Regions from separate parts of the Homo sapiens genome. Here regions 2, 3 and 4 are each linked to region 1. The links are contacts of gene promoters, found by promoter capture Hi-C in blood cells and fetal thymus (Javierre and others, 2016). All regions are on one chromosome and are shown on one strand. Each heading gives the region's core, a stretch centred on a gene start or on the middle of the fragment in contact. The rest is flanking DNA. Distances are from core to core; before and after follow the strand shown. Region 1 holds the start of SYNCRIP (synaptotagmin binding cytoplasmic RNA interacting protein). Region 2 overlaps PHIP (PHIP subunit of CUL4-Ring ligase complex). Region 3 has its middle 4.4 kb from the start of PHIP. Region 4 holds the start of HMGN3 (high mobility group nucleosomal binding domain 3).

Region 1 (4,990 bases), core at 732-3,231:
GACTCTTATTTTCATAGTTTTCTATTAAACATTTTGTTTTTCATGTATATCATTAACCACGACCTCTGCATTGTGAACAAAAATCCCTATGGCTGAAGCAGCTGAATATCACATATGTTTGATAGTAAGGAATCTGGGGTGGTGGAGATCTCAAATCCTTACTAAACAGGTTGGCTATGTGGTGCTTTGGCTAAAACATACTTCATATCTGATCCAAGTAGCTATGAAAATAATCTAGCATTTTATGTGCTTGTGCACTTTGAAGAGTGTTTATCTAACTTTTCCTCAAACCACTGATTTGTTATCATAGCACAGAGCTCATCTGGGGAACCAGTAAGCTCTTAAAAATAAGCTTTTTAATCAAAAGGACATTGTTTCTATTTTTCATTACAGCTGCCCTGGATAAAATTAGTATCCATATCGCGTCTGTAATTCAAATGCCTTTGTCTTGTCTTTCTTGTACCTAGTAAACGATTATAAAGGAAACGTCATTTCACAGAAGATTTAGTTGCCAAGGTTTTTTTTAAAAGAAACACAGACATTTTTCTCAAAGTTGTTCTAACCACGCAGCTTTGTGCTGTTTCAAGTTGCTCAAACTGTGCCAGGAGGAAGCCCTTAACTGCTTAAAAGGCCAGGGACTGAAACGGAGTATTGCACAACCCTTCACCACCGGGCGGTTTCGCTTCCAAATCTGGCCTTCGTGTCATCCCAAGGCAGGAGCCGCTCCTCGCTCCACTGGAGCCAGCCCCGTTCCCCCTTCAAAAGCAGCCGGGGTTTCCGCGTCCAAGCCTGGGGCGCCCCTCCCTTCGCCGAAGGTTCCCGTGAAAGCGGAGCCGCGCGGCTGCGAGGAGGGCCCACTGTCCAGTTGGGGAGATCGAGTCTCCAAGGGCGACTCTCGCACTCGAGTACCGCCAGTCCGGCGGACCAAAGGTCCGCGGGTCTCCGCGCCGCTCCCCTCCCCCTTGGCCCCATTGTCTGCCTCGCCCCGCCCCGGGGGACACGTGCGCCTGCAGCTTCCCGAGGAGGAGAGCGCGGGGCGGTGGCAGCGGCGTGGACACCGCCTGGAACGGCTACGCGGCCGCGGAGCCGGGGGCGGGGGCCGGGCGCGCACAGACCGGTGGGTGCCCTCCGGGAAGCGGCAGTCGCACTCAGCGCCCACAGCACTCTGCCCCGCCAGCCCCGGACCGGGCAGGGATGGGGCGGGCGGGAGCTCGGTGGGGGTGGCGTGCGCATGGTGTCGCGGGGAGGGGGTGGGGTGGGGCGGGGTGGGGAGATGCCAGTCTCCTGACAAAGGAAAACGAGTGGGACACGCTGAGCCGGCCCGCCCCGCCTGGAGGGGAGAGGGAGGGGGAGTGTCGGGAGGGGAAGGGGCGGGCCTTTCATTCAGTCTCGGCCCCTCGGCCGCCACCGTCGGAGCGGAAGGGCGGGGTCTTGTGCCTCCCCCACCCCCAACCCAAGGGGTGAGGAGCGGGGAAGGCGGCGCGGCGTGGGGGCGGAGCCCGCGGGCGCGCGTCCCGAGGCGTAGGCTACGTTGTCACGTCAGCGCGGGAGAGAGAAAGAGAGGAGCCGACTCGGCAGGGACTGGGGGACCGGGCCGAGAGTGCGAGCGAGCGAGGGAGGGAGTGAGGGAGCGTGCGAGCCAGAAGGGGAAAGGCGGCCACTCGTGCCTGAGCGACCGCAGAGGGGAGTGGGAGCAGTGGGGTAAAGGAGCGGGGGGCGGGAATAAGAAAGGCCGAGAGAAGGCGGACAGAGGCTAGTGGTGGTGGTGGTGGTAGGGGGAGAAGGAGGAGCTGGAGGAGGGCAGGGGCTGAGGGAGTGAGTGAAGCGGACGCGCGAGGGAGGGGAGGGAAGGGAAGGGAAGGGAAGGGGGGGTCACGCGGGGGCGCGCGCGCGCACCGGGAGCGCGCTCGGAGGCGAGTGGAACTGGATCGGGTTTGCTGCCAGCGGCGTGAGCTTCGGCCGCCATTTTACAACAGCTCCACTCGCGCCGGACACAGGGAGCAGCGAGCACGCGTTTCCCGCAACCCGATACCATCGGACAGGATTTCTCCGCCTCAGCCCAACGGGGAGGTAACGACTGCCAGAACCTGGGTGTGGGAGGGGAGCTCCATGACATTGTGGAGTGAGCTGGGGGAGGGTGGCGCGGGTAGAAACCGGCTTTTCTGGAAAATGGATTCCAATGGGGAGAAGAGCACGTTGACTGGGGCTGCCTGGGAGTAGGCCGCGGCCCGCGCCGCCACTTCCTCCTTTCCATGTGCTGCTGCGGTTCGGGCTTTGTCTGCGGCGCTTTGGGAGGAGGCGCCTCCACGGTCCCGTGGCCCGCACGGACCGCGAGCGGCTTCAGAGTTGGTGCTGTCGTGGCGGTCGCCGCGGCGCGGGAGTGGGCGGAGAGGAGTGGGTCTTGTCCTGCAGCCGTGCGGCGAGCTTGGGCGGTGCTCACGGTCCCGCGGGCGTTGAGCCGTCCGCTGAACGCCCTCACGCTGCTGGGTTGCCGGGCAGGCGTCGCAGTCACTGCACGGAAGGGTAAGGGGTGGGGACCTGCACAGCGCGCCACGGGTCACGTCTCGGCCGGGCGGGCGGCCGGGGGTCGTCGGCGCCCGGGGAGCGCCAGGGGCGGAGAGCCATGTGTCACGGCGGAGACGGCGGCGCTGGGGGGCGGGGAGAGCCTGTGGCCTGGCGCCGCCGGTGCCTCGGTGTTCAGGGGAGAGATTGTGCTGCTGCAGCTTTCTGGGGGCTCCGACCGCGGCTTCGGGTTGATGTTGGGAACCAGTGATGGTCGTCTTGGTTTGGGATTCGTTGGGTTGCCGTTGAAGGAAGTTGTAGGACATTGGAAGGCGCAGAGCACGTGTTTCTAATGGGCTCCTGGCGGCCGCAGTGGTGAGACTGCCGCTCTGGGTGCGGAGTCAGGGGCGGGCTTTGGGGTGCGGGGTTAAAGGGTGGAGAAATTGGGTGGTGGGAAGGTGGCTTGTATGAGCGCTTTGTTCTTCGCTGGCTGTTGTTACCGATCTATAAGCGGCAGGCGGGAAAAGCGCGCACTTTGGGGGTTTATCTTTGAGAGAGAGGAGCCCAGTTTTGCTTTCTCCACACACACCTCATTTTCCGAACGGGCACAGCTGCATGTGGCACGCTGGCTCGTACCCGTGCTGATTGGGCTCTATTTGTAATATGGTTTTTCCTAGGGAGTGTTAGCAGGTGAGTCAGGGGTGGTGCTGAGGAAGAATATGGTGAATCGGTCCTTCTGTGCCCTGTGCTCCAAATCTGGCTTGTCAGGCGATAGTGACTGTAAGGCTTTTTTAAAGGGAGGTATAGGCTAGCTGGTGTAGTAAATGGTAGAGAAAGTAAAGATGGGGCTCTCATATTGTCTTGTATTCTTTTTGAAGATCCTAGTTTAATTTTGCTTATTGCGTTTGAACAGATCTCTGGAAACATGGCTACAGAACATGTTAATGGAAATGGTACTGAAGAGCCCATGGATACTACTTCTGCAGTTATCCATTCAGAAAATTTTCAGACATTGCTTGATGCTGGTTTACCACAGAAAGTTGCTGAAAAACTAGATGAAATTTACGTTGCAGGTAAGAACTAACACTTGCAAAATTACATTATGAAATTTTTCTATTGGATTTCTGGCTTTGAGCTAAAATAGCAACTTTTTGTGGTTTCCAATAAGTGTGGGTACTGGAGTTTTGCTTGTTGTGATAGTTGGTTAATTTAAGTTTGAAGTAGAGGTTAAGATGTATAGAGGGAGGGAAGAAGAGAAGGTTAGGAGCTAAAGGCTGGCTTGCATGCTGGCCTGATGGATAAGTATATGATAGTAGCAACAGCTGCTAAATGTTGGGAACAGGCCATGTGACTTTTTTGAGTATTTTTATAGTAGGATTCTTCTTAAATAACTTGGTAACTGTAGACTTGTTTTCTTGTCTTTCTGGTGCGGCTGTTAACTTTTTCTGGTGGTATTTGAAATTGAGTAGAGGTTCAGTTGTCATGCTTGGTACTTTGTTGGTTGATTCTAGGATTCGTAAGTCTGTATACTGTAAAAATACCGTAGTGTTCAGAGTTATCAGACTTTGGAGATAAAAGATGTAAAAGAAGTTAGCTGATTATTGTAAGTGTGGTTGGTAGGGCATATTTAGTTCAGGATTCAGTTCAGAGTGGCTGAAGTGTGTGTTTTTTTTTTTTCAGGTATAGATGAGGGGAGTAGAAGAATTGTAAAGGCACACATGTACCTGTATTGCCAACATAGTCTTCTCTAAAAAATCTTTTCTAAAAATATTAAAAGCTGATAACTTTTATTTTTTTCAGGGCTAGTTGCACATAGTGATTTAGATGAAAGAGCTATTGAAGCTTTAAAAGAATTCAATGAAGACGGTGCATTGGCAGTTCTTCAACAGTTTAAAGACAGTGATCTCTCTCATGTTCAGGTAATGTTAATGTCAATGTGAAAATTAAAAAATTTGAGTAGTTTTGATACTATCTGCTGAATTTTATTAGACTCAGATATGGTTATTGTTAAATATTAATGGAACATTTTTTTGCAGAACAAAAGTGCCTTTTTATGTGGAGTCATGAAGACTTACAGGCAGAGAGAAAAACAAGGGACCAAAGTAGCAGATTCTAGTAAAGGACCAGATGAGGCAAAAATTAAGGTATGTCTTTCTATACTCCCTTTAGTTTTAAAGTCATTTTAACTGTTTCCTAATTTTGGTAAATATTCCTTGGGTATGAAATGGATGTATGTTAGATGTTGAGATAATTCATCAATCTTTCCTAATTCCTTTTTTTAAGTTTTTTTAAACTATTTGTTTCTAAAGCAATTTGCTGTGAAGTTTATCATGTTATCCAGCTACTGATGTTTAAATCTGTTCTATTGGTAGTCCTAGTATAAAGAAACACACCCATGATACCTCTAGAATATTTTTTGAAAAGCTGCAAAGCCAGCTTATTGACAGTTGAAATACTGATGGAGAATGTACATTTGGCAACTGGCTTT
Region 2 (4,990 bases), core at 1,784-4,283, 6.6 Mb after region 1:
TTGGATTGTGTAGAGTATAGAAAAACAAAGGAAGTTACATTAGAGGGAAGATCTGAGACACATGGAAGAGTTGTCTGGGCAAGGAAGTGTGGGGAAATGCAGAGTGTATGCTATATGATAAAGTCTGACAGGAGAGAGAGATTATGCGTAAATAACCTGAAAGAAGGCCATGTGTTTGAAACGTGAAAAGTGAGAGTTGGGGAAAGGGACTGGGAATGTGCCAGGTGAAGCTAGAAAAATAAGAAGTGACCATACATGCATTTCTGGGCTGATAGACCAAGTTAAGGATTTGGATCTTTATCCAAAGAGTGAGGAAAGCATCAGAAGTGTTTTAAGTAGGGGTGACTTGATCCAATATGTATTTTGGAAAGAACATTCTAATTGCAGTATAGAGAATAGATTTGAATGGGGCATGAGTGCATATGGGAAAGGTATGCATTTATTGCAAAGATTATTTGGACTGTTATGGAGATACAGGTAGATGGATTTAAAAATAGGAAGGAAAAATTAAGTTGAACTTGGTGACTGCTTGGATATTGGGAATATGATGGGAAGGAGGAAGGAATGAACTGTGTGCAAAATGCAGCTCCTTGGTTTCTGGCTTCCAAGGTTGGATAAATGGGGTTGACATCCACCCAGGTAGGGAACACTTTAGTGGGGAATGTTTTCATGAGGATCCATCAATTCAGTTTTGCATATGTTGAGTTTCAGATGCTTTGGGGCTCTAGAGAGCTGTTTTAAGAAAGTTTGCTATGCAAGTCTATGCTATAAATAGAAATTTGGCAATCATTGTTATAACAATTGTCCAAAGAGAGAGTATATAGTGAGAAGAAAAGAGGATCTGGAACTGGACTCTGGTACCTAGGATCTTAAGGAACTTCACTATTTAATGGCTATATAGAGGAGTATAAGCCTAAAAGAAAAATGAGAAGGAATGGTTGGAGAGGAAGAAAGCAAGCCAAGGAGTGTCACAAAAGTTAAGAGAAGATAGTTTGCAAATGAGGAAGTGTTCAACAGTTAGGTGAAATATTATGGGACATTAAATAAGGTATAGATTTAAAAATGCTTATTGGAGTTATTGATAATTGAAGGTGAACTTTTGATAAGAGCTATTTTTTGTAAAGTCATGAGTGTGGGAGCTAGTGTGGAGTAGATTGAGGAGAGGATGGGATACGAAATTAGATGGACTATGGACCATTCTTTTAAAAACATGTTTCCGGAGAGGAAGAGAACGGGAAAGGGGTAGCCAGGATATTTGGGTGGGGAGGTGTTGGATAATAGCAGTTAGGCAGGATTTTTGTTTTTTCCTAAAGTGGATGCAAAATGAGCATGTTTACATGTAGATGGGAAGGAGTTGGTTGAGAGGAAGTTAGTGTACATACTAGAATGTGGAGGTCTAATTTATAGTGTAGGATTTCCGTGCAGTCAGAGAAGTTAGGATTCAAAGCATAAGTAGAGGGATTGGATCTTAAATATTTATTAAGAGGGACAGTTGTGTTAATAAGAGACAGAATTGGTACAGGTGTAGATAGGTTTACAGATTTGATAGGGAAGAAACAAAGCTTCAGCTTTAAAAAAGGTTCTCCTGTAAAGTAGGTTAGGTCATCTGCTGAGAAAATGAGGGGTGGGGAAGAGGATTCTTGGGAAAGAGAGGATAATAGCATTGTTTGTTAGTCTGTTTCCACTGTTCTTTCCAGAGACCCTTTCATGGTGGTACCTCAGGGACTGCTAAGAGGAAGCAAGTAGAGAGTCAAGCATTGAGATATGTGTTCCCTGATGCCACTTAAGTAAGATACTTTCTGAGTACCTTTACTTTAATCTGTTTTGTCTAAAATTTGTTTGAAGACATGTTCTAAGGCTTTCTTTAAAAAGTGTTTTAAAACTGTTAGAATTGGCCGGACGCTGTGGCTCATGCCTGTAATCCCAGCACTTGGGAGGCCTAGGGGGCGAATTACTTGAGGTCAGAAGTTCGAGACCAGCCTGGTCAACATGGCAAAACCCCGTCTCTACTAAAAATACAAAAATTAGCCAGGTTAGGTGGTGGGGCGCCTGTAATTCCAGCTACTCGGGAGGCGAGGCAGGAGAATCACTTGAACCTGGGAGGCGGAGGTTGCAGTGAGCCGAGATCCCGCCATTGTACTCCGTCCTGGGTGACAGAGGGAGACTCCGTCTCAAAACAAACAAACTCACCCCAAAACTATTAGAATAAAGAATTATACCATGTAAAAAAATTTTACTGCATCTATTTTTATGTGCTGGGATAGGTGCTAACAAAATGTTTTGGGTTTTTTGAGAGTGGGGAAGTCAGTCGTTTCTGCATATTCTTAAATCTTCATATATCCAACTAGAACTTTATTAAGCACTTAACTATAAGTACTGCATTAGGTATTGGGTAGACAGAGGTAAACATGGCCCAATCTCTCCTTATGCAGGACACAGACAAGTAAACTGGCAATTTTAGTATAGTGCATGAGTCTTATGAACCCCCAAAACAGGGCACATAATGGTAGGGCTTGTGTATTTTTGCAGGGAAGAAGATCGTAGCTGTCATTAGATTCTTAAAAGTCTAAGTATCAAAATATATTAAGAACAATTAATATGGTAAGTACTACACAGTGCTAGAGGGATGAAGGGACATTCGAGGAGTATAATGTGCTGTGGGAACACAAAGTGTCCAAAAAGGGGCACAGGTGGTGTAAATAGGTCATGGAAGGCAGTGAGTGAGACATAGACTGAGACATGAAGGAGAATGAGGTGTAGAGGTGAGCAGGTAAGACAAGATTGCCAGCAGAGGCATCAGCTTGTATAAAGTCTCAAAAGCCAGAGAAAGCACAAGGAATTTAAGAACTGGAAGTATCTCTTCTAACTTTAAAATGAAAGTTGATTTTGAAAAATTCAAACATTCTAAATCACCAAAGAAAGCTTGAGTCAGAGTGGATTCATAATATTTTATTGAAAGATAGAATATTACAGTAAGGATTTTCAGTTTCACTACCTGAAAATATATTTTGCCAGAGGATACTAAAACAGGATCATCACACATCTGAAGTTAATAAGTAATGAACTTCCATCTTCTTTAAAGTAAAATTTTTAAAAGGAATTTTGATCAATTAAGTCACATTAAAATAATCATTTGCAAGCTTAGAACTGGAAGCAACCTTACAAGTATTCTAGACTTCTAAATTTTATTTTTGAGTAAATTATTTTGGGGAAGATTAAAGAAAAGTATACGATTTTAAAAACTCATTTTGGTAAGTTTTCTTTTAAATGCTTTTTAATTTAGCTAATCATACTAGTGTTTCCTAAAGTATGTTCTGAGTGAATATGATAGATATTATTAGGGAAAAAAGGGATTCTGTAGCTAAATGAGTTTGGGAAATAATCTCAGGATTTTTCAGAGACTTCAATGTCAGTGTGCTTTTTGACTGCAAAACAAGGAGGTAATATGTATAATTCATATGATACAAACTGTATTAGAACTCCTTTTTCCAAAAATACTCATTTTACTGGCTTATCACCTACTGTATGCCAAACTGCTGTTTTAAATAATCTTACCAAAGATTATTTGGTGGCAGTATGGCTCCATGTTATCTTTGTGAAAGAAGGAGTGTATTTTGATAAAGAGTAAGGTAGGTTTCTCCTATTGGCTTCAGTTTAGATGGGTATTAGCTACCTTTAAAAACATATCATTCATGGATTTCTGCAGTTAAGAGTATAGCAGATATTGCAAGATGGAATGAGATGATTTAAATCCTCACCTCCCCCCACATCAGTCTTATCAAAAGGAATTCATGTTAAAGTTGCCATTACTTGGTAAACTTGAGGAACAATTTTCAAATTTCTTGGTCTTAGGACCCCTTTACACTTACTAAAATGTATTGAAGTTCCTTTATTTGTGTAGCTTATAATCTATTGGTATTTACCATATTAGAAACTTAGCATTTAACATATTGGAGACCTATTAAATAATACTAATAAACTAATCTTATTTTAATATAAGTAACATTTTTATAATAATTATTCCCAAACAAAACAAATTTGTGAGAAGCGTGGCATTGTTTTACATTTCTGTGAATCTTTAATATCTGGCTTAATAGAGGAGACATTTTCCTATCTGCTTCTGCATTCAGTCTGTTAAGACATCACATGTTATGTGTCCTGTGGAAACCTCCACCGTGCATTCATGAGAAAAAGTGAAAAACAACTAATATAGTGTTATTCATAAGTTTTATCTGAGGGACCTCCAGGGGTTCCCAAAACATACTTTGAGAATAGCTGAACTAGATACTACTGTGGAAATTTTTTTCTAACTTGATAGCTAATTATGAAGTAATACAATAGTATTTTTTTCCAATATAATTTTATTTAGATAGTGAATATTGTTTATTTACTGAAAGACTAATAAAAATATTAGCATTTCATGTCATGGTTTCAAATGCCGGTATAAATTAAGCAGTATTTTGAAGTTGTTCCAAAAGTGCTCAAACTTTTTATAGTGGGTAGCTTTATTTTATGATTGAAAGATATTTAAAGCAGCAGTTGGAATTTTGCCTTTCTCTCTGTAAGGTTTTTGGTAAATTATGAAATTCAGCATAGATGTTAAGTGTTCTTAAATTTTTTAATAACAAACTATCAGTTCTTAATTCTTAATTATTCTGGAGATTTACTTTACATCAAAGACGCAAAACAAAATATTTTATACTTGGATGAATTTTTTTATTGTTGCTCAAAGATTTTGAAAATTAAAATGATAAACTGAAACCTACTATATTTGTCTTTTACATAATAGGTGAAGTATTACAGACACTTAGCACCTGATCACTTGCTGCAAATATGTCATCGACTAGGACCTCTTCTTGAACAAGAAATTCCTCAAAGTGTTCCTGGAGTACAAACTTTATTAGGAGCTGGAAGACAGTCTTTACTACGCACAAATAAAAGTATGAAAATTTTCTCATAGGATTTAGACATTATTTATCTCACTTTTGTT
Region 3 (4,990 bases), core at 1,466-3,965, 6.6 Mb after region 1:
AAAATATATACATTTTGTACTAAAAGCAATTAGGTTAAGATACAGAAACATAGTCTATATGAAATACTCATTGTTTCAAAAATGTGAATTCTTTGCAGTTAAATTTGAATGGTATATATAGCCATTGATTCATATCTCTTGCAATCCATTCAATAAATTGAGTTATTGCTGTTAAACAAAGTCAGATTTTAATAACTGAAAATTTCTGGAGACTAGCCAGATTATGCAACCTTTGTTTTCCAGATGTTGTGGTTAGAGGGGTCACTGCTGCTTCAGATTATCAGCCTCTAGTAAGCTGGGCATCTCCATGTGTTGAAACAAAGTACATAATGAGGGTCAAACTGCAAGTGTTTAAATGATGGTTCTTCAGCTGACACACAGAGAGAAAGGAATAACGCTGCAATGAGAATACTATAGTAGTAGGAATGACATATAAGGGCCAAGGACAGATGTTAGAGGTTGACTTTGGGTTTTTATGTCATCTTAAATAATTTTGCCCAGGAAAAAAAAAACACAGCTTCACAGCAATGCAGAACACCAGAACTTGTGACAGAAGTTCTTATTTTTTTCATCTTTTTTAACATTAAAAAAATTTCTATTAAAATATTATGAGTAGTAAAAAGGGAAAAGATCATAAAATAATAACAGGAAAAAAGTTGGGTGATTAACAGAGGAAATTACCTTTGTAATTACTATTCTAATAGAAGAATGCCTGTTAATAGGCTTTAGGGGAAAGTATCTTCACTATCGTGCCACGGAAATTTGCCATTGTGTGTTCAACACAAACTGATCTAAATTTTTTTAAGGTATAATACGATCTGGATCTAAAAATGAAAATGAAACAAGTTATCTAAATATCTCAAAGAAGTGAAGTTAAGCAATATTAACCATAGAGAGGTTTAAGTTTATGTAAGTCCTGAAAACTTTATGGAGTGTGAAAAATGCAAAAACTTTTTTTAAAATTTAGTAATTCCTCTAACTCAGTAAAATCTAACATCTGAAGAGGGCCACATTTACCTGGACTTCGGTAAAAATGTTGAAATAAGAAAAATTTGGCAACACAAAAATGCAAATACATACTGCACAAACAGCAAACGTTTGCCACTTAGCACTTCATTTCTTTCCTTATGGAAAAACAGAGGAAAGAAAGCAGGAAGAGGGAAGCAGGGAAGCAAGGCAGGAAGAAAGGAAGGAAGACAGGGAGGCAGGCTACATGTTTTTTCCTCCTTTTGACACCAATTCTTTAAATTGTTTTAGTCTTTTGTATAATAACCAGGAAACCTGAAAATAAGAGATGTTGAAGATTTTAATGTGTGACAGTCCCAATTATAAGAGGAAAGAATAGATTCATATTTATATTTTTAGAGTTCTTAGAATATATCCAAACTGAAAATATAACATGGGAATTGTTTCTCCAAATAATTACATATCTTATTTTCCGTATTTTACCTTTGGAAACTAACATTTCACTGATGGAAAAGAAGGAAACTTTTACAGAGACACAGAAAAAACTGAAAATGCCGGAATATCAGGGAAAGATGGAATTCTTACACAAGTACTTGCCAAAAAACCCAAAACACTGAATGACAAAAACAAGTGTAAAGTGTAACATGTACAAACTATAATAAGACAAAAAGACAATATACTTCTTCCTTCTCACATGATGCTACTTACCCAACATTTTTAAGAAAGATTTTCTCTAATGATGTCTTAGAGGCATTACTTCTGATACCTGTTAAGGGGAAATACCACATATATTCTTACCACAATATTCCATCTAAAGGCTATCATAGTTTGTCTATAAATCATTATCAGTTGGTAAATTTTGATGAGCATTTAAAAATCCACTCCAGCCATTTCGTCTGCACCTGTATTTTTAGGCACTCAAGTGTAAACATGAAAACTGTTAGTGTAACAAGATTTGTAGGTGTAATCTTAAAATCAAATTATAAGCTTTTCTTAAATTTTAGCACACACATCTTGGTTGAAAGATCTACCTGGTATCAATATTGTTTTAAATTTTTAACTATGATATAACTAATTTTTTTGTAATAGCTAGTCATTGTTTCAATAAACATGTATGAGAATATCTGTGAAAGAGAATAAAGCAACAGAGGCATAAGTCAGGGGGACCTTCGCAAGTACACACACATCCCCATATATGAAGAAAAACAAAAATAATATACAAATTAGATTGTATAATTAGGTCTCTTATAGGAATTCAGAAAATAGAGTATTTTTGGTTACAGTTAAATCTAAGTTGCTTTATTCTTAATTTTGAATTAGAACTTATATATGAGTCTCAAGTCAGACTTGTGAGTGCTCTGAATGTTCAGTCCTTATTCTTTCAAACACCTGTTCTTCTTTGTCATCAGTAGTGTCTACTTTGGTGTCCTTGATATCCATTATTTTTACTCTGTATAGATTCCTCACTATTTGTCAGATAAAACTTTCCCTTCCTTTTCTATAACTAAAATGCTTTTTCTTTGGGGTTCCTGAAGTTTATGGCTTTAGGCACATATAAAGGCAAGTGACTATGTAACTGTTTTTCTCAAATGCCATCTTAACATCGCATAGATAATAGTGTACTACCAGAGCCTCTGCACCCATTTTCTCCTCCCCTCCCCCACTTTACCTTCTCTTCTTTCACTGTTCTCTGTTCAACTCAGCCCACTCCCAGTCCATCAGACATCTTCCTATGATAGAACATGCCTACAGACTTCTCCTTTATGTTTCCTGCCATCTGGAACAGCTTTTTCTGCTTCATCCACTGTGTTGCTCCAAATCTTAGGGGAATATGTTCTAAAATTGTTTTTCTCCTTTAATCTTTGTAATTGTACTGTTAAAACTCATGAAGTGATCATTTAAAACAAACTATATAAATAAACCCATGAAGATGTGTATTTCTTGTGCAAATTAAGACTTATAAAAATACAAACTACTAGAATTATTTAACTTGGATAAAAAAGATTGAGTGAATTACTAACATTTAAATACATAAGGGATAACATGATTGTTGAGGACTAGCTATATTTGTTACACATTAAAAGGAAACGTGCTCTAATTTAAGTAAAAAGATTCCTCAGTGAGATATAAGGGAGAACTGTTAATGTTAAATAACAAAAACATTGTTAAATAATGGAATGGCTCACTTAAGTTGGTTATCTCTATTCTTTTTGGAGCAGCCAAATAGTATATCTGTTCATGTGCTTCAAATCTGATAAATATTCATGCTCTATGAAGAAGGATATGTGTGTGTGTGTGTGTGTGTGTGTAAGAGAGAGAGAAAGTCAGATAAGCATGGACAGAAACACACAATATTGGGGAGCAAGCCACAGTGAGGAGTGTGGCTTGTTAAATAAGATCCTTGACAGTTGTATTGTGTTCTTGGGGCAGATGAGTAGTTTTTTTTAAAGTACTTTTGAGAGAACAGTGTTTTCTACTTTTACATTTCTGTATTTCACAGGATAAAGCTTCTGCTATAGAAGAAATGTAACATCAAAACAAAAGCAAGATTTAACATGAAATTTTAAAAGTTGTACTTATAGAGATTTTTTGAGTTACGTATTATTCACCATACTACTGGAGATTAAATTTCATAAATGTATAATTTTTGTACTTATAAATACCATCCCATCTTGTTCCTGAAACAACTGAAATGATAGTATTTGATTATTTTATTGGAATAATAGCTTACAAGATCAAGACAAAATTTTTGTTAAATATTTATTTTGTTTCATGTGTTGCCACGTGAAAAGTGATGAATTTCACATAAACTTTTATATTTCAAGAAAAGTTTCTATATCTCCTAGAGAGACTATATTATGTAAAAACGTTAGGTCTTGGCTTTCCAAACTTTTACTATTATTTGTTAACCTTGTTATTTAAACTGCATGGAGATCTTTTTAAAGTGATATTTTATTTTTGGAAACCCATAAAAATGTTAAAATAAACAAACAGGAAAGGATATAGATGGAATCTGAACTATCCTTATATGCAAAAGAGTTGGCTGAACAAAAAATTGCAAGGATCATTGCTTTGGGAACTAAAATCTAGAACTTCCAAATAAGACTTTTCTTTCTATTTGATATTTACAGACTTTGTACATAAACAAGTACAATAAACAACTTAATAAATCTTACAGTTAACTGTCAATGCTATAATTCACAAATGTTTTTTATGTTTAAGAAAATTAAAAGGGCTATTTGGAGTATTTGTTACATTTAAAGGACTTAGTAAAATTCAATTCAATATCCACTGTTAAATACAAATAGTTTATTTGGCTGAAGGGAAGTTTTAATTTTTAGCAGGTAATGTATATTTTCTTATAACAGACAATAGTTCAAAGGGAAGGTTACAACAATCTGCATATTGGACATTTGAAAAAGAAATATAAACACTGTCAAAAATCAATCAAAATGACAGGAACATCATGTTTAGAAAACTTAGAGGGGGATTTTCCAAAAAATTTTTAAGGAGCTAAGTACTAGTAGCATATTTAGGTGAAAGCTTTTGTGGCTTCTAAATGAAAAGAATATATGAGATAATCATGCTAGTTTTCTATGTTTACAAAACACACAGAAGATATATATCACAAACTTTACCCAGAGTAATATTATATTCCATGTCATAATTTGGTTTATTTTCAATCACAAGAATAAAACATCTATTAGTAAGAATCATACATTCCAAGCCTTCAAAACCAGAAAATCCCACTATAATTTTTAGTTTCTAAACTCTGTTTATTTGAAGAACTTCAAGATCGTGTAAAATATTACAATTATTTGAAGAACACTTTTTTAAAAGTTAAGCTAAAACAGCATCGGTCTTAGAAGTAAATACAATTTGCAAAAAGGCATACAAAATTTCCTATCTTTTCAGTCTATCTTTTCAAGCCTAACCACCTAGAAATAGGCTACTTTACCTATAATTGAATAGAATAAAGTGTCTTTAAAGATGCAAATATGTTCAGTATTTGAGAATAGCTATC
Region 4 (4,990 bases), core at 847-3,346, 6.4 Mb after region 1:
AGCGCGTACCGCGCGCGGAGGTGGGCGTGCCCTCGTGGAATTTAGAACGTTGCCTCAGCCAATGGGGCCTCGCGGCCGGCTGGCGGGGCTCCTCATTGGAGCAGCAGGGAGGCGAGCAGAGGGCCCCCAGAGGGAGCCGCGGAGGTGCAGGTCGAAGAGGCCGGGCTACGTCGTGCCCTGCGCGTGAGCAGCTGCAGAGGCAGAGGCAGCATCCAGCGGCGGCGCCAGCAGTTCCAGTCCGTTGCTTTACTTTTTGCTTCACCGACATAGTCATTATGCCGAAGAGAAAGGTAAGTCTTACCAAAAAAAGATTTCAAAAGCCTTCAAATTCTGCTTACAGTAAATGCTGGCATTGCAATGGCTCGCGCAGAACGCGCGCGGTAGTAACCCGGGGATTGGGAATCTTTGCTCCTCCACGCTTGTTTTTAGATGCCTGTTGCAGACGTTCCTCTCTCTGTCCCCCCTACCCACTCCGTCCTCATCGATCTCTTAATGTTACTTTCTCTCCAGTGACGCGGTTTCCCTTCTTTTTGAACTCATTCTCGCTGGAATGTTTTCCACCCCCAACAACAAGAAGCAAAAGCGGCTTTCCATTCCGAAAGGGAGTTTCCTCTTTGCAAACTGCCAGGTTGCGAATTAGTGTGAAGGGAAAACAGCGAGAGGAGAAAAACAAGTACAAGCGTAAGGAGAGGGAAGAAAATAAATCAGGCAAATGTTGGGATTATTCCCATGCGGCTGTACTCGCGGGCTGGGTGCGCTGCGGTGGCTCCTAGGCTAAGGGAAAGAGAAAGCCATGTTTAAAATAGCGCTCACCCTCCTGCTCGCCTCCGCTGCAGACCCGTATGTACCAACTCCAGTGTCAATCAGGGCTGGGGCCGGCGAGGCGGGGCCTGGCGGCCTGGACCTACCCGCAGTTCGGGGCGGGAGCGGTGGAGTTGGCAGCGTGGAAGACGGGACGGCGCCGGGGCGTCCAATATGGCTCGTCCAAGGTCAGGGGGCCACCAGGTCCTCCCCAGCGACTGGAACCCACACTCGGTTGGGGAAGGCGGGGTCCGCGCGCTATCCGCCCCTCTGCGCGTCTAGCGAACTGGAGTCATTTTTGTCTTGTCTTCCGCCCCTTGCGGACTGTCCTCTTCTGCGCAGGCCCCGGACACCAACTACTACATTCAGGGACACAAATCTCCCTCGGGGTGGGGCTTCGACTTGTCCCGGGGAGGGAAGGGAAAGGTTTCCTCCTCCCTGAGAAATCAGTGAGGATTTCTCAGCTGGTTCCTAAGCAAGTGCTTTGCACCCTCCCACCGCCAGCCTCAGTGTTTCCAACAGTGTCAACGAGTGTGGGTATTAAATTTGAAGCAAAATTACACCTAATGTCTTGCTTTATCAAAGACCATGGACTAATTTGTGTGTGAGAGTGACTGCATTATTTTAAAATACTGAAGTTTTAAAAATTCAAAAGCTTTCCCCTTCTTATATGTTATTACTAAAAATTGGGTAGAAACTTGTCTCCTACCCCACTTTTTAAAAATAATTGAAAGTGTTTAAAAGTCTTAGAGTTTGTTGTGCACATACTGTGTCCCTCACGCTGTGCAGAATTTGACTTGCATTATCTCATTTAATCCTGAAAACAGCTTGAGCGGTGTTACCCCCATTCAGCTGGGACTTAAAGACATAAATTGTCCTGCATCTCACCAACCAATAACTACTAGTAAAGATTTAATCAGATGCTATAGATGCCAAAGTCTTATTCTCACCCATTTCGTACTCACTTACGAAAGGGTGGGTCAAGAGGAATTAAGGAAATCCAAAGGTACTCCCAGTTTAAGAAGACAGATGGCATATTAAGAGCACTAATACTTGAGATTTATTATTTAAACTTAATTTTATGAAGGTATTTTCTAGCCCTGTTTTACTAGAATTAGGATATTAAGTGATGTCACCATTTTCAGCATTTTGACTGAGGGTTAATGATGGATTGGAAATTCTAGTAGAGACAAAGGAACTAATCATCAAGATACGGGTTACAGAGTAAGTGAGCTGGAGGCCATCTTTTTTTCCTGGGAATTATAACCATTGTTTACATAAACAGTAGGTTAGGTGTGCACACTTTATGTATAATGGACCCTGACGATGGAACCCTTCCTTGCTGTTTATTCAAGGGCCAGAGCTGCTGAAACCATTATTCTTACTTCCCCTGTCTGCCTCTCTCAAGGAGACGGAAGGAAAAAAAAAAAAAACTAAAATAACAGTAAAATTACAGCTACAGTTTTATTTCCCTGGAAGGCAGGGAACCCCCATGCATAAGCTAGCCAATGGTCCTGAGACTAGGGGCAAAACTGTGTACAGGCACCTGTGTGTCATTCCTGAGGACATCAGAGTGTTCTCCGGTGATGGAAAACCTCTCCTTGATTAATAGGAAGGCTTTCCATTTATACCTGAAGCCTAACGACCTCAGTTGGTACCTGGGCAGGAACAACCTCAGATTAAACACGGCGATCATGGCCATCCATCTATCAGTCAAGTCTTAGAGCAGCCTCATGGAATCCTGAAGTTCACTGGAACTTATGTGAGGAACCACTGTCATTAGGTAAAGCCTGCTTAGATACAAAAAAGAACTGGAGACAATCCATGCATAGCTCTTCAAGATCTTCAAAGCTGGGGTAACTGCCAAAGCATTTACATACTACACAATATTTTTCTTGACTAAAGAATTGTCTGCTCTACAATATAATAAGCTTTTAAAATGTCCCCCTAGTACTTTTTTGCCTTCTTAGCCCCCTGTATCAACCTTTCCTAGAAATCAAGAAATGTTATTTAATGAACATCTGAGTAAGTTGTTCTGCAGAGCAAGAAGTGGTACAGATAAAGTCAATGAAAACATCTGGAATCCTAGCCCTGTTGTAATGCTGTAGGGACATACAGTTTTTGCCCTCTTGGAACTTGTGTTTAATTCAATGAGGTGATAAGACTAGCAGCACAAAACAGTTGAATAACATTAAAACTGTGTATGTGTTCCAGAATGTGTAGTTATAGATCCCACAAGCAGTAGGACAGATAAGGAAAGTTAACTTTAGGCTGGTCTTAAAAGTGTGGGTAGGACTCAAATATACAAAGAAGTCAGAGTCATTTTTTGTTACCAGGTATTCAAGTGTGTCTCCTGATTGTATCTTAACATGACCAGGCCTCAGTTTTGCAACTTCAGGGCTATAATATCATCTGAATTAATATTAAAATGTTCTGATGACATTTCTTTGTAAGTTTTATGTGTATCTTTGTGTGTGATAGTCATAACTACATTAAGCCAAGTGGTTTTTTATAAATGCCATAGTATTTTGTGAAGTAATACAGCACTTAGTGAAGAGTTCTTCAGTGCATATTATCTCTAAGTTTGTGAGATGTAAATAAAAGTGAGTTTCCTGTATTTTTTAGATAATGGATGGTGGGTGAGTGGAATTACAGGGGAAATGATAACATTCATGGACTCAGTGGTGAGACAATGAGTGATTGAGTTCTAGACTGTTCTGGCCAGACATCCACAAATGCCCGCAGTGGTCATGTTGTTATGTGATGATTTGATGTTCTACGAAGAGACATGAGCCAGCGAGGCCTAGAGTCACAGTCCTGGCATGATTAGCGACAGGAAACACATTTTTACCTCTTTCTTTTTATTAATATTTTCCAGTTCCTTATCACTAGAACTATTTTAAATGTCTAGTGTATCACATCAGAAATTCTCTAATGAGGCAATTTTCCATGAATGTGGCATGTAAGCAGTCATGTCTCTTGACACTTAAAGGTTTAAGGAAGGAAAGCCCATCTGCCTCTAGCTTTGAAACTCAAAATTAGGTTTTTATCTGTTTCCTTAAAATGGAAGGCCCAGTAGCAGTAGCATTGGGCTTATTAGCACAGGGGATGCTTAACTAACCATGATCAAGGTTTGTGATAGTTAATTTTGAAAAGAATATTACTTGTCATAACACCAAAAACAGAAACTGTAAATGAAAACACAGATAAATTTGGCTACATGAAAATGAATATTTCAATATGGGAAAAAAAACTGTTAACAAAATTTTTAAATTTATGAAAAACTGGGAAAAAATATTTGTACCACATATCACTGAAAAAGGTTTGCTGTTTTAAAAAGATAGCATCTCACATTTCCTTATGGAAAAGATGTATATCTTTATAGGAAAATAATGAAGACTCAAGTAGACAGAAATGTTTGGTTTTACTAGAAATCAAAGAAATGTACAATATTAAGAATAATGAGATGTAATTTTTAAAATAACCAATCTGGTTTAAAAAAAGATTAAAAACCTACTGGCTAGTGCTGAGGGATATAGACACTCAGCACTCTCAGTTATGAGAGTATAATTTCCTTTAAAACATTTATTGAGTATAATCTACTTACTATAAAGTCCATTCATCCATTCGAAGTATACAATTCAGTGATTTTTAGTAAAGTATAGAGTTGCGCAACCATTGTCATAATCCAGTTTTGTAACATTTCCATCATTCCACAAAGGTCCCTCATGGAGTTTATAGCCAATCCCCACTCCCAGCCTAGCCCTAGGCACTAATCTACTTTTGCTGTATCTAGATTTGCCTTTTCTGGAAATTTTATTTAAAAGAAATGATACAATATGTAGTCTTTTGTGACTGATTTTTTCACTCAGCATGATGTTTTTGAGATCAGTTTGTGTTGTAGCATATATCAGTACATCATTCTTTTTTATTGTCCAGTAGTGTTCCATTGTATGGATATACTCATTTTTGTTTATCCTTTCACAAGGTGATGGACATTTGGATTGTTCCAGGTTTGGATTATTATCAATAATGCTGCTGTGAATATTTGTAAATAAGTGATTGCATGGACATATATTTTCATTTCTCTTGGGAAGATTTCTAAGAGTAGAACTGGCAGGTGGTATGAAAGTCTATGTTTATCATTTTTTTTTTTGGAGGCGGAGTCTGGCTCAGTCGCCCAGGCTGG

The links. Contacts are between HindIII fragments. The CHiCAGO score rates a contact against its expected background, and 5 or more counts as called.
Region 2: a fragment that was not itself captured here is called in contact with the fragment with the promoter of SYNCRIP in region 1 in 2 of 17 cell types (total B cells and non-activated CD4 T cells); the score reaches 8.0 in total B cells.
Region 3: a contact is called between a fragment that was not itself captured here and the fragment with the promoter of SYNCRIP in region 1, in 7 of 17 cell types (non-activated CD4 T cells, total B cells, activated CD4 T cells and 4 more). The highest score is 19.7, in non-activated CD4 T cells.
Region 4: a contact is called between a fragment that was not itself captured here and the fragment with the promoter of SYNCRIP in region 1, in 3 of 17 cell types (non-activated CD4 T cells, total B cells and fetal thymus). The highest score is 9.3, in non-activated CD4 T cells.

The regions. Positions count from the first base shown.
Region 1 is chr6:85,639,877-85,644,866 of GRCh38, reverse strand. SYNCRIP (synaptotagmin binding cytoplasmic RNA interacting protein) reads left to right here and starts at 1,981. Exons shown (of 11, transcript NM_006372.5): 1 at 1,981-2,070; 2 at 3,416-3,575; 3 at 4,303-4,421; 4 at 4,539-4,646. The coding sequence starts at 3,428. RefSeq lists silencers at 902-1,921, 2,512-2,661, 2,882-2,931. The HindIII fragment of the contact is 3,992 bases long and covers 355-4,346 here.
Region 2 is chr6:79,060,618-79,065,607 of GRCh38, reverse strand. PHIP (PHIP subunit of CUL4-Ring ligase complex) reads left to right here. Exons shown (of 40, transcript NM_017934.7): 5 at 4,790-4,940. All of the region lies in intron 1 of LOC124901346 (a long non-coding RNA gene), which reads right to left. Among named protein-coding and RNA genes, the nearest start is that of PHIP, 15 kb to the left of the region's middle. The HindIII fragment of the contact is 218 bases long and covers 2,925-3,142 here.
Region 3 is chr6:79,080,156-79,085,145 of GRCh38, reverse strand. No RefSeq gene overlaps it. Among named protein-coding and RNA genes, the nearest start is that of PHIP, 4.4 kb to the right of the region's middle. The HindIII fragment of the contact is 1,520 bases long and covers 1,956-3,475 here.
Region 4 is chr6:79,229,846-79,234,835 of GRCh38, reverse strand. It overlaps HMGN3 (high mobility group nucleosomal binding domain 3), which reads left to right and starts at 154. Exons shown (of 7, transcript NM_001201363.2): 1 at 154-290. The coding sequence starts at 276. It overlaps HMGN3-AS1 (HMGN3 antisense RNA 1), which reads right to left and starts at 1,162. Exons shown (of 2, transcript NR_040671.1): 1 at 909-1,162; 2 at 1-774. RefSeq lists enhancers at 36-825, 826-1,616, 4,634-4,990 and a silencer at 829-878. The HindIII fragment of the contact is 1,276 bases long and covers 1,459-2,734 here.